3 separate regions of the Homo sapiens genome follow, and all the other regions are linked to region 1. Evidence: promoter capture Hi-C in human tissues and cell types (Jung and others, 2019). All regions are on one chromosome and are shown on one strand. Each heading gives the region's core, a stretch centred on a gene start or on the middle of the fragment in contact. The rest is flanking DNA. Distances are from core to core; before and after follow the strand shown.

Region 1 (3,989 bases), core at 1,490-3,989:
GCCTCAGGAAACCTACAATCATGGCGAAAGGAACCTCTTCACAGAGCAGCAGGAGACAGAATGAGTGCGAGCAGGGGAAACGCAAACGCTTATAAAACGATCTGATCTTGTGAGAACTCACTCACTATCAGGAGAACAGCATGGGGGGAAACCGCTCCCATGATTCAATTACCTCCCACTGGGCCCCTCCCAGGACACCTGGGGATTACGGAAACTATAATTCAAGATGAGATTAGGGTGGAGACACAGCCAAACCATATCAAACAGAAAGAACATACTTTTTTCCTTAGACTCTTATTTTTATTAATCTACTCATCATTGCCATTATCAAAGCTATCACCTGTTGAGTGCCTCTTATATACCAAGCACGGTATAATTCACTTTATGCTCTCGCGGTCTACGAATATGGATTAGCCCCAGAGAAGTCAAGAGACCCAAGGAAGGTCCTACAACAATACAAGGTTGCCCTGAGAATCTGACCCGGGCCTGTATGACTCCAAGGCTGGCACAAATATTGCTTGTCTGACAGATTATTAAACAGTAACAAATACAAATAAATTATTCAAGAACCATTTTCTATTTTTAGAAACCTACATCATTTATATGACATCATAGACTCTGCCAAGCAGTGGCATCAACAGCCTCATAATTATCCACAGTTTAGCAACAGAAACAGTTTTCCCTCTTACCTGCAGTAGAGTCAACATTCTCCCAGGCAGCTGCTCCACCAAGCACATCATCCACTTCTTTCAGTTTTGGGTACTTCCGATTTGTTACCTAACAAAAACAACACTTCAGACTCCAAGTAACTGAATAGCGCAAACCTGGGCTGCCAAACCTTAAATTTCAGGATTACATAAGAGTTCACTCGGCTGGGCGTGGTGGCTGACACCTGTAATCCCAGCACTTTGGGAGGCCAAGACGGGCGGATCACGAGGTCAAGAGATCGAGACCATCCTGGCTAACACGGTGAAACCCTGTCTCTACTAAAAATACAAAAAATTAGCCCGGCGTGTTGGCGGGCGCCTGTAGTCCCAGCTACTCAGGAGGCTGAGGCAGGAGAATGGTGTGAACCTGGGAGGCGGAGCTTGCAGTGAGCCGAGATCACACCACTGCACTCCAGCCTGGGCTACGGAGCAAGACTCCATCTCAAAAAAAAAAAAAAACAAAGAGTTCACTCTTCCCGTAGTTTCAAACTCCAAACTCCCACAACACAGTACAAACTGGAGTAGCATGCAAACATTAAGACTGACGTAGCACCAACATATTCTAACTGCTAAAAAGTAAAGGTATTCTGGCCAGGCGTGGTGGCTCACGCCTATAATCCCAGCACTTTGGGAGGCCAAGGCAAGCGGATCACCTGAGGTTGGGAGTTCGAGACCAGCCTGGCCAGCGCGGTGAAACCCCGTCTTTACTAAAAATACAAAAATTAGCCGGGGATGGTGGCAGGCGCCTGTAATTCCAGCTACTCGGGAAGCCGAGGCAGAAGAATTGCTTGAACCCGGGAGGCAGAGGTTGCAGTGAGCCGAGATTACGCCATTGCACTCCAGCCTGGGAAACAGAGCGAGACTCTGTCTCAAAAAAAAAAAAAAAAAAAAAAAAAAAAAAAAAAAAAAAAAGGTCGGGCGCGGTGGCTCACGCCTGTAATCCCAGCACTTTGGGAGGCCGAGGCGGGCAGATCACGAGGTCAGGAGACCGTCCTGGCTAACACACGGTGAAACCCCATCTCTACTAAAAATACAAAAAAATCAGCCAGGGGTGGTGGCGGACGCCTGTAGTCCCAGCTAATTGGGAGGCTGAGGCAGGAGAGTGGCGTGAACCCGGGAGGCAGAGCTTGCAGTGAGCCGAGATCGCGCCACTGCACTCCAGCCTGGGCGACAGAGCGGGACTCCGTCTCAAAAAAAAAAAAAAAAAAAAAAAAAAAAAACAATAAAAAAAAATAAAGAAAGCACACAATACATTACATAATATATTAGAAGGTAATAAGCCCTATGGAAACAATTACAAAGGGAAGGAGAATAAATTGGAAGGAGGGGCTGAAATTTAAAATACGGTAAAGACAAGACCAATGAGTAAGGTGGCGATCTAGGGGAAGAGTGAACTGAGCAACAGCAAGTGCAAAGGCCCTGCTAGCACCATGAGCACGATGAGAGATCGTCCAGGAGGCGGTGTTGATGCGGCAAAGGGCAACAGGAAGGGCATTAGGACTTGAAATCGGAGACGCACGCAGGGGAGGGAGTCAGTGTCGGAACCTGGTAGGCCCTGGGAGAACTCCGGCTTTTCGTCTGCGTGAGCTGGAGAAGAGCCGAAGGTTTCTGCGCACAGCACGGACCTGCGTGCCTCAGCTTTAAGGAAATCACCGTGGCCGCCGCTGTGAACGCAGAGAAGGGCGCGAGCGTGGGAGCAGGAACCCAAGGCGGTGGGAAACGGTGGGGCTTTCTGAGTGTATTGGAAAGTAGAGCCCACAGATCTGCTGCAGACCAGAAAGGGGCGCGAGAAAGAGCGGACAGAGGCAGACGCCGGGGCTGGCGGCGATGGAGCAGCAGTCGGAGGACGCGGAAGGCCTGCGAGAGTCGCCCGCGCCCAGCGCCGGCCTTCGGGTCCCACCTTGCGGGTGATGTTGTGCACGTAGGGGCACGTGTTGCAGGCGAAGCGGTGGCAGCGTTGTCCCTCCTCCACGATCAGCCCGTTCCCGCAGCCGGGGCAGAACAGCAGCATGGTCTCGAACTCCGCAGGCTCCAACTCCCGGCAGCTCCCACTGCCGCTCAGCGCCGATGCGCCGCCCGCCTCGAGCTCACATTGGTCCTGGCAGCCTTCCCGCCACACCAACCAACCAATAGACAGGGCGATTCTGCGCTCCCGGCCCTGCTGCAGGCTGTCTCGCACTTGTCATTGGTCACTGCAGCCGCCCCACCCCCCCCGGCGCGCCAGTGGCTGGGCGGCCTCGCTGGGGCGGGCCGCAGTTCCTGCGCGTGCGCGCTTGGCCTCCCTAGTGCGGGCTGGCAGTGCGGGCAGAGCCCGGCTGAGAGGGGCGGCCCTGGAGGAGACGGAGGCCGCGGGTGGGCCCGAGGCGCAAGAGGAAGATGAGGACGAAGAAGAGGCGCTGCCGCACTCCGAGGCCATGGACGTGTTCCAGGAGGGTCTGGCTATGGTGGTGCAGGACCCGCTGCTCTGCGATCTGCCGATCCAGGTGTGTGCGGGCGGGGGCTGGGGGCGCGGGAGTCGTTCCCCGGGGTCCGGGCATCCGGGCGCCGGCAGCCTCCGAAGGTGCTGGTGGGAGACTGCGGCCCAAGGCTGAGGAAGGCGCCTCTGGGCGTAAACGAGGGTTTTAACCTTGACCGGGCGCACTCGCCTGGGGCGCGAAGCTTAAAGAGGAACCAAAAACCTCATTAGTGAGTGACATCAAATGACATTTTAATGTAATTGTATTTAGGGGGCTCGGGGGACAGGGTCTTGCTGCGTTGCCCGGGCTGGAGTGCAGCGGCGTCCTCCCACCTCAGCCTCCCGAGTAATTGGGACCACAGGTGCGCGCTACCACACCCGGCTAATTTTTAAATATTTTGTACAGAGGGAGTCTCACTATGTTGCCCAGGCTGATCTGAAACTCCTGGGCTCAGGCGATCCTCCTGCCTCGGCCTCCCAAAATGCTGGGATTTAGGTGTGAGCCACCCGCCTGGCCTGTAATACCTTTAAAAGTCAAAGTTGAGGCAAAAAAAGAGCCTACGGTAAAAGAAAAATTTAGTTTTAAATAAGAGCAAGATTAGTAGTACTGATTGTTCCATTTGCCTCAAGCGTCAATCATGTGTCAAAGCGTCAGTATCATGCTTTGGGACGATACTGTCTTTTTATTTATTTATTTATTTATTTGAGACTGAGTCTTGGTCCGTTGCCAGGCTGGAGTGTAGTGGTGCCATCTCGACTCACTGCAACCTCCCCCTCCCGGGTTCACTACAGGCACGCGCCACCACGCCCGGCTAATTTTTTGTATT
Region 2 (4,016 bases), core at 1,121-3,620, 190 kb after region 1:
TTCCTTTCTGCATGGACTGTGGTATTCCTGCCCCACCCCTGCCGAAATGTTAATGAGCTGTGCAAACTACTGCTGGATTGTTTTGTTCTTCCCCCTAATCAGAGTTTCCACTCAGGACTGGGTAGCCTGTGGACTCCCTGGAGGACAGATAGGTGTGGCAGCCTCAGTGGCCTAGAGTGGACAGCTGGTTTACCGATAGTCCTTTTTTTTGAGACAGAGTCTTGGTCTATCACCCGGGCTGGAGTGCAGTAGTACGATCTTGGCTCACCACATCCCCTACCTCCCAGGCTGAAGTGATTCTCGTGCTTCAGCCTTCCCAGTAGCTGAGACTATAGGCAGACACCAACATACCCACCTAATTTTGTATTTTTAGTAGAGTCGGGGTTTCACCATGTTGGCCAGCCTGGTCTTGAACTCCTGTCCTCCAGTGATCTGTCCACCTCGGCCTCCCAAAATGCTGGGTTTATAGGCACGAGTCACCGCGGGCTTACTGATAGTTCTGTAGGCCAGGGGAATAATCCGTTTGAATAACCATATATGAGGTATTGTGTTTATCTTTCTTTCTTCAAGTTATTCTTGGTGTCAGCTCCTTTTTTTTTTTTTTTTCTGAGACAGAGTCTCGCTCTGTCGTCCAGGCTGGAGTGCAATGGCGCTATCTCAGCTCACTGCAACCTCTGCCCCCCGGGTTCAAGCGATTCTCCTGCCTCAGCCTCCTGAGTAGCTGGGATTACTGATGCACATCACCACGCCTGGTTAATTTTTTGTATTTTTAGTAGAGATGGAGTTTCACCATGTTGGCCAAATTGGTCTCGAACTCCTGACCTTGCGATCCACCCACCTCAGCCTCCCAAAGTGCTGGGATTACAGGCGTGAGCTACCACGCCCATCCCGTGTCAGGTCTTTTACCTTAATTAATACGTATTGTATTGACAAATTTTCTTTTCTTTCTGAGCCCTCACTTTTTTTTTTTTTTTTGAAACAAGGTCTCACTCTGTTGCCCAAACTGGAATGTAGTGATAATGATCACAGCTCACTGCAGCCTCAACCTCTTGGGCTCAAGCTAACCTCCCACCTCAGCCTCCCAGGTAGCTGGGACTACAAGCACATGCCACTACACCTAATTTTATTTTACTTTTTGTAGAGATGGGGTCTCCCCATGTTGCCCAGACTGGTCTCGAACACCTGGCCTCAAGTCATCCTCCTGCCTCAGCCTCCCAAAGCACTAGGATTATAGGCGTGAACCACCCTGCCCGGCCATGAAGTTAAATTTTTGGTTATTAGCTTGTTGAGTTCTGTTTTCTGTTTTTTTAAATAGCCACATGGCCTGACTCTCTGTGGTCAATGGTATGGATGCTAAAGTAGAGCAAGGACAGTGCCCTGCTCAAGTCTCTCTGACCTGGGTCCATGGGGATTTTCTCTGCCAGTCAGGTTCCTGAAGCTCTGGCTACGGCTCCTGGTATTTTTAATGACCGCAGTAGAGAAAAACATTGGTATCTTCTTGCTGTTGATGAGCAAATCTTTGGACCTGTCTCATGGTGTCTTTATTTGCAAACTGGTTGAATCATGAACTGCCTGGCTTTGGCTGCCTTGCCGTTGTGGCTTTTAATAACTACCCCTATTTCTGGTGGCTCAGTCAAGTTTCCAAAAAGGAAGTCTTACCTGGAGATCCTGTGAAGGAATTCCTGACCAGCTTTTTAATTTTCCAAAGACAGGCCTTATTCGTGTTAAACACACACCCCTTTTCTGTGGCCAGGCCGGTGTGAAAGCATGTGCAGAGGCTGTATAGCAGTAAGAGTTCCCACCCCTTGGGGCATTTTCATTGTCACCACATTGTCTGACTTTGGAGACGACCCCTTTTAAACTCTGGCATTTGCTCAGGTAAGTATTTGGGGAGTATTGTTATAAATGCTGTGCATATCCGTTTTTTCCCCACAGTGGAAAGGAAAATGATTTTTTTTTTTTTTGAGTCGGAGTCTTGCTCTGTCACCCAGGCTGGAGTGCAGTGGTGCCATCTCGGCTCACTGCAACCTCCGCCTCCCAGGTTCACACCATTCTCCTGCCTCAGCCTCCTGAGTAGCTGGGACTACAGGCACCCGCCACCACGCCCGGCTAATTTTTTCTATCTTTAGTAGAGATGGGGTTTCACCGTGTTAGCTAGGATGGTCTCGATCTCCTGACCTTGTGATCCACCCGCCTTGGCCTCCCAAAGTGCTGGGATTACAGGCGTGAGCCACCGCGCCCGGTCGGAAAATGATTTTAATGGATGGTTTTGAGGAAGCTGGTGATTATTTTGTAATGGAGAATTGTAACATGCCAGGGGTTTGGCTCTTCTTTCAGTATTTCTTCAGGCTACCACAAAACTCCACTATTGATATTCTTCCAAAAATAAACAAAACACTAAAAGGACTCCTGCCTTTGGAACAAAATAGCTTCATATTAAGGTAGCTTTGAGGCACAAACCAAGCTGCCTGTGGAGAAGCTGGTTCTTCCTCTAAAACTTACATGAACCTCTGACCCCACTCCCCCTTACTAACGGTTTTCTTTTCTCTTTTGATTTTCTATTTTATACTTTTTATTTTGGACTACTTATAGATTCACAAAATGTTGTAAAAATAGCACAGGGCTGGACCCTGAAGTCTGCTTCCCTGAATGGTAACCTCTTTTTTTTTTTTTTTTTTTTTTTGAGACGGAATTTTGCTTTTGTTGCCCAGGCTGGAGTGGAATGGCACGATCTTGGCCACTGCACCCTCTGCCTCCCAGGTTCAAGTGATTCTCCTGCCTCAGCCTCCCGAGTAGCTGGGATTACAGGCATGCACCACCACGCCCGGCTAATTTTTTTTTGTATTTTTAGTAGAGATGGGGTTTCTCCATGTTGGTCAGGCTGGTCTCAAACTCCCGACCTCAGGTGATCTGCCCGCCTCAGCCTCCCAACGTGCTGGGATTACAGGCATGAGCCATCGCGCTCGACCAATAACTACCATTTCAAATTCCCACGACTATTGTACTGCAGACCTGTTATCGTATATTCTCACCAACACATTTTAAAATGCTTAACTTTTAGGCTGGGCGTGGCCCACACTTTGGGAGGCTGAGGCAGGCAGATCACTTGGGCCCTGGAGTTTGAGACCAGCCTGGGCAACGTGGCGAAACTCTGTCTCTACAAAAAATACAAAAATTTGCCCGGCGCGGTGATGCACACCTGTGGTCCCAGCTACTTTATAGGCTGAGGTGGGAGAATCTCTCGAACCCAGCAGGAGGAGGTTGCAGTGAGCCTAGATCACCACTGCCCTCCAGCCTGGGCCACAGAGTGAGACCCTGTCTCAAGATCAGATAAAATGAAATGCTTAACTTTTGTTAATGTCATTGGTCCTGCTGTGTCTATGAGTGAGACTGAGTGTGTTTCCCCTGGGCACCGGCCACTGGCGTGTGCTCTTCAGTGAACTGCCCAGTTATGAATTCGTTTCCTGTTTCCCCACTGGGGTCCTTGCCTTTCTTTTGTGGGTTTGTGAAAACCCTAAGAATATTTATCCTGGTTTGTTTTGTGGAGCTAACAACAATCTTTTGGCTTCCCTGGGCCACGTTGGAAGAATTGTCTTGGGCCACACATAAAGTACACTAACACTAATGATAGCTGATGAGCTGAAAAAAAAAAATTGCAAAAAAATCTGTGAATGTTTTAAGAAAGTTTCTGAATTTATGTTAGGCCACACTTCAAGCCATCCTGGGCCGAGGGTTGGACAAGCTTGGGTTAGACATTTCATAATATATTTAGTTCATCAGTGTTTTTCTTAATGATTTCCACCTTTGGGGTCATGCGTTCAAGACTTTCCCTAACAATACATAAACATTCTCTTCTATTTTCTTTTAGTTTAATGTTTGTTAAAAATAATGTTTACATTTTTGGCCAGGCGCAGTGGCTCACGCCTGTAATCCCAGCACTTTGAGAGGCTTAGGTGGGCAGATCACGAGGTCAGCAGTTCTAGACCAGCCTGATCATCATGGTGAAACCGTCTCTA
Region 3 (4,198 bases), core at 272-2,771, 220 kb after region 1:
GGCCAGTCTCTCCAACTAGAACTGAGGTCAACTCGCTCCTTAGGGCCCTGTTCAGACACTGCCTCCCTCACTGGTCACCCTAAGCCCCCATTCAAGGCGGGGTGGGGCTGGGGGCCTGCACAAGTCTTGGATGTAGTCACAGTCTGTGCCTGGGGAGGGGTACAACCGACGGCAGGTCGGCCCGGGACCCTGATGTGGTTAGGGAGGGCAGGAATGCTGTCCTCAGGCCTTCACAGCCCCTCCCTCAGGACCTGGGCCTAGGGACCCCCAGGAAGATGGCAGAATCCTCTGCACATACGACCCCTTGTGGGGCCCTGCTGTGGTCCCCAGGAAAACTGAGGCTCCATCCCTCAGCCGGGTCCTTCTCACCACATCCGTACTTGCGGTCCAGGACTTTTGGGGAGGGGGCGATGGACCACCAGCCCACGGCGACATGGCGGAGTCCCACTCCAATCCCAGCAAGCTCGGCGCCCCTCCTGTCTCCCCGAGTTGGTAAGCTGGGTGGGTGGGGGTGGGGGTCCCACCGGCTCCCACCTGCACCCCCGAGCCTGACCTGGAACCTGTAGGGCGTCTCGTCTGGCCGGAGCATGAGGCTACGGGGGTCGCGCAGCGGGTAGATGTAGCCATGCTGCACCAGGACGGCGCCCAGGTGCAGGGCCTCTGGGGAGGGGTGGGACGGTGAGCGCGGGGCCGCGGAAGCGGGCGAGGGCGGGACGAGCCGGGCCTCCTCTCCCCTATGTGCTCCCCACCCTTGCACAGCGCGCTCAGCAGGGCTCTGAGAACTGCCAGACTCCAGGAAAACCCAGGCCTAGGCCACCAGCCCAGTGACCCCAGGGCCCAGTGGGAGGCAGGGCGCTCACCCTCCTCCGAGACGCAGAACTTCTGGGCCAACCACTGCACGACGTCGCTGCCTGCACGGGAGAGACAGAGGTGGAGGGAGGCCGAGGCGCGCACGCACCCCCGCCCCGGCGCGCCTCACCTGTCACCGCGTGGGGAATGACGGTGACCAGCAGGCGCTGGCTCCGCATCTTCACGCCCTGGTCGGGGTCCTGCATGCTCACGACCACCCGCTCCATCTGGGCGGAGGGAGTCGTCAGGGGGTGTCTGGCCGCCCCGCAACCCTGATTCCCTGGCACCGGCCGGGATGCCCCGGATCCGGGAGCGCGGAGATTAACGCGCGGCGGCGGCGGATTCCAGGCCGCAGCTGGCGGCGGGGACGCGGGGCGGGCCGGGGAGGGCCGGGGAGGGCCGGGGAGACCCCGGAGACCCCCAAGGGCCCCAGGCCTCGCCGCCCCTCCCGGCCTCGCAGACCTCCGCCCCAGGCCCGCCCCGCCCCGCGCGCCCCCGTGTCCCCATGCTCTCCGGCCCCTCCCGGCCTCGGGCGCCGGGAAATCGGGGGACGGCGGGACACCCACCCGCCTCGCACCTTCCTCAGATGCGGCATCTGCGCCCGGGGGCGGCCGGGGGGCGGCGCGGGGCCGGCGGCCATGGCTGCGGGGCGAGGCCGGCGGGGATGACCGACGTCCCGCCCGGCCCCGCCCCGCGCCGCGCCGCGCCCGGGTTAACCCTCGGGCCGCGAGGCCAGAGTCGCCCAGGCCCCGGTTCGGGTTTTAAGAGACACGGCCACGGCCCAGAGGCAAACGAGCCGGCCCCCCACGAGCGACCCGAGTCACCCCCCCGACCCAGGTCCCGGGACGCTGAGGCCCTCGTGGGTGAAGGCGAAGTGGGACGGGGGAGGGTGTGGGCCGGGGGCCGAGGGGGGATGTGAGGGGATGGAGCTCAGCTGGAGCAGGGGGTGGTCTCTGGGAGAGGCAGAGGGGCTCATCAGCGAGGGGGGGTTACTATGGGGAGGGTCTCAGGGAGGGCAGCGGAGGGGATGGGGGTTCAGAGAGGGAGAGGGGTTCCGTGAGTAGAGGAGACCCGTAGGGAGAGTGAACTGGGGTGGGAAACGTGGTTTAGGGCCCACTGTAACCCCGGTCCTATGTGTGGGGCCCTGAGGACATACAGGGACTAGAGGCCTGGCTGTGGGGCCGGGGCCAGGGCCAGCGGTATGACTGCCCGAGGCCTTGTGTCCTGCGATGCTTGTGGCCAAGACTGCATACATTGCTGTGACGGTGGCTGGTTAGGGGCAGGGTGCATGAGAGATTGGGTCAGCTTTCTACATGGGCCGGATGCCGGCTGTCAGTGGAGCACGTGGCTGCTGCAGAGTGTGACCCAGCTGTCCCCATCTCCTGCTGTGGGTCCCTTATCCGGGGTCCTTCCGGGAAAGTGGCTGATGGCTCATGGCTCACTTCCCTCAGCTCCACGCAGGCCTGGGTGGCCCGCTGGGGAATGAGCAGAAACCCTGCCCAGGGCACCCTGACACTGTTGGAGAGGAGCTTTACTGCAGGGAGGCCCTCAACACACACCCACTTAGTGTCACCGGCGGCCGCCAGGCTTCAGGCCCCACTCCACTCCCAGCTCTCTCCCTCCTCCAATGGCTATGCCTGTCCCCCAGGTGCACCCCGAGCCAGGCCCAGGATCTTCAGGCCCCACCGGGCAGTCTCGGCTCACTGCAACCTCCGCCTCCTGAATTCAAGCAATTCTCATGCCTCAGCCTCCTGAGTAGCTGGGATTACAGGCTCCCACCACCACGCCTGGCTAATTTTTATTTTTGTTTTTGTTTTTGAGACGGAGTCTCACTGTGTCACCCAAGCTGGAGTGCAGTGATGCGGTCTTGGCTCACTGCAGCCTCCGCCTCCTGGGTTCCAGCGATTCTCCTGTCTCAGCCTCCTAGGTAGCTGGGATTACAGGCACGCGCCACCACACCCAGCTAATTTTTGTATTTTTAGTAGAGATAGGGATTCACCACGTTGGCCAGGCTGGTTTCGAACTCCTGACCTCAGGTGATGTGCCTGCCTTGGCCTCCCAAAGTGCTAGGCTTATAGGTGTGAGCCACTGTGCCTGGCCGATTTTGGTATGTTTAGTAGAGATGGGGTTTCACCATGTTGGCCAGGCTGGTCTCAAACTCCTGACTTCAGGTGATCCACCTGCCTTGGCCTCCCAAAGTTCTGGGATGACAGGTGTGAGCCACCACACCCGGTCGGATCATTTTTTAAAAACTAAGTCGAGGTCTCACTATGTTGCCCAAGGTGGTCACAAACTCCTGGGCTCAGTCCATCCTCCTGCCTCAGCTTCCCAGCGTGCTGGGATTAAAGGCATGCCCAGCCAGCATCTTTTTTTTTTTTTTTTTTTTGAGACTGAGTCTTGCTCTGTCAGGCTGGAGTGCAATGGCGCAATCTCGTCTCACTGCAACCTCCTCCTCCCAGATTCAAGCAATTCTCCTGCCTCAGCCTCCTGAGTAGCTGAGATTACAGGCCCCCGCCACCACGCTTGGCTAATTTTTGTATTTTTAGTAGAGACAGCATTTCACCTTGTTGGCCAGGCTGGTCTTGAACTCCTGACCTTAGGCGATCTGCCCACCTCGGCCTCCCGAAGTGCTGGGATTACAGGCCTGAGCCACCGAGCCCAGCCTCAGCACCATTTTTAAAAGGTGCAAATGCATCTATTTCTGCTTGCTTTCTTTATTTTTTAAATTATTTATTTATTTATTTTGAGATGGAGTTTCACTCTTGTTGCCTAGGCTGGAGTGCAATGGTGCAATCTCGGGTCACTGCAACCTCCGCCTCCTGGGTTCAAGCGATTCTCTTGCCTCAGCTCCCAAGTAGGTGGGATCAGAGGCATGCGCCACCATGCCCGGCTAATTTTTTTTTTTGTTTTTTTTTTTGCATTTTTAGTAGAGATGGGGTTTCACCGTGTTGGCCAGGCTGGTATCAAACTTCCTGACCTCAAGTGATCCACCTGCCTTGGCCTCCCAAAGTGCTGGGATTACAGGCATGAGCCACCGCACCTGGCCACTAATTTTTTTTTTAATTTCATTTTTATTTTTGTAGATAAATATACACGTAGCCCCTCGCTTATCCCTGTCTGTAAGGGCCTCAGTTTCTTGCTGTGTTGCCTAGGCTGGCTGATCTTGAACTCCTGGCCTCAAGTGATCCTCCTGCCTCAGCCTCCCAAATGTTGGGATTACAGGCATGAGCCATGGCACCTGGCTATGTATTTATTTTTTGAGAGATGGCAGTCTCATTCTGTCACCCAGGCTGGAGTGCAGTGGTGCAATCATAAACTCATTGCAGCCTCAAACTCCTGAGCTCAAGTG

What was found. The method cuts DNA at HindIII sites, captures the fragments that hold promoters and counts their contacts. A contact is called where the count stands out against the background at its distance.
Region 2: a contact is called between a fragment that was not itself captured here and the fragment with the promoter of POLR3K in region 1, in 1 of the 25 tissues and cell types used here (heart left ventricle).
Region 3: the fragment with the promoter of RGS11 here is called in contact with the fragment with the promoter of POLR3K in region 1 in 1 of the 25 tissues and cell types used here (H1 embryonic stem cells).

What each region holds. Positions count from the first base shown.
Region 1 is chr16:50,869-54,857 of GRCh38, forward strand. It overlaps POLR3K (RNA polymerase III subunit K), which reads right to left and starts at 2,740. Exons shown (of 3, transcript NM_016310.5): 1 at 2,608-2,740; 2 at 690-777. The coding sequence starts at 2,718. SNRNP25 (small nuclear ribonucleoprotein U11/U12 subunit 25) reads left to right here and starts at 2,960. Exons shown (of 5, transcript NM_024571.4): 1 at 2,960-3,190. The coding sequence starts at 3,149. RefSeq lists enhancers at 2,006-2,532, 2,261-2,420 and silencers at 2,751-3,070, 3,211-3,310. The HindIII fragment of the contact is 23,499 bases long and covers 1-3,989 here.
Region 2 is chr16:242,023-246,038 of GRCh38, forward strand. The region is part of intron 1 of FAM234A (family with sequence similarity 234 member A); the gene reads left to right. Among named protein-coding and RNA genes, the nearest start is that of FAM234A, 9.2 kb to the left of the region's middle. The HindIII fragment of the contact is 7,678 bases long and covers 1-4,016 here.
Region 3 is chr16:274,423-278,620 of GRCh38, forward strand. It overlaps RGS11 (regulator of G protein signaling 11), which reads right to left and starts at 1,522. Exons shown (of 17, transcript NM_183337.3): 1 at 1,427-1,522; 2 at 980-1,076; 3 at 861-911; 4 at 554-660. The coding sequence starts at 1,489. RefSeq lists an enhancer at 787-1,438. The HindIII fragment of the contact is 15,363 bases long and covers 1-4,198 here.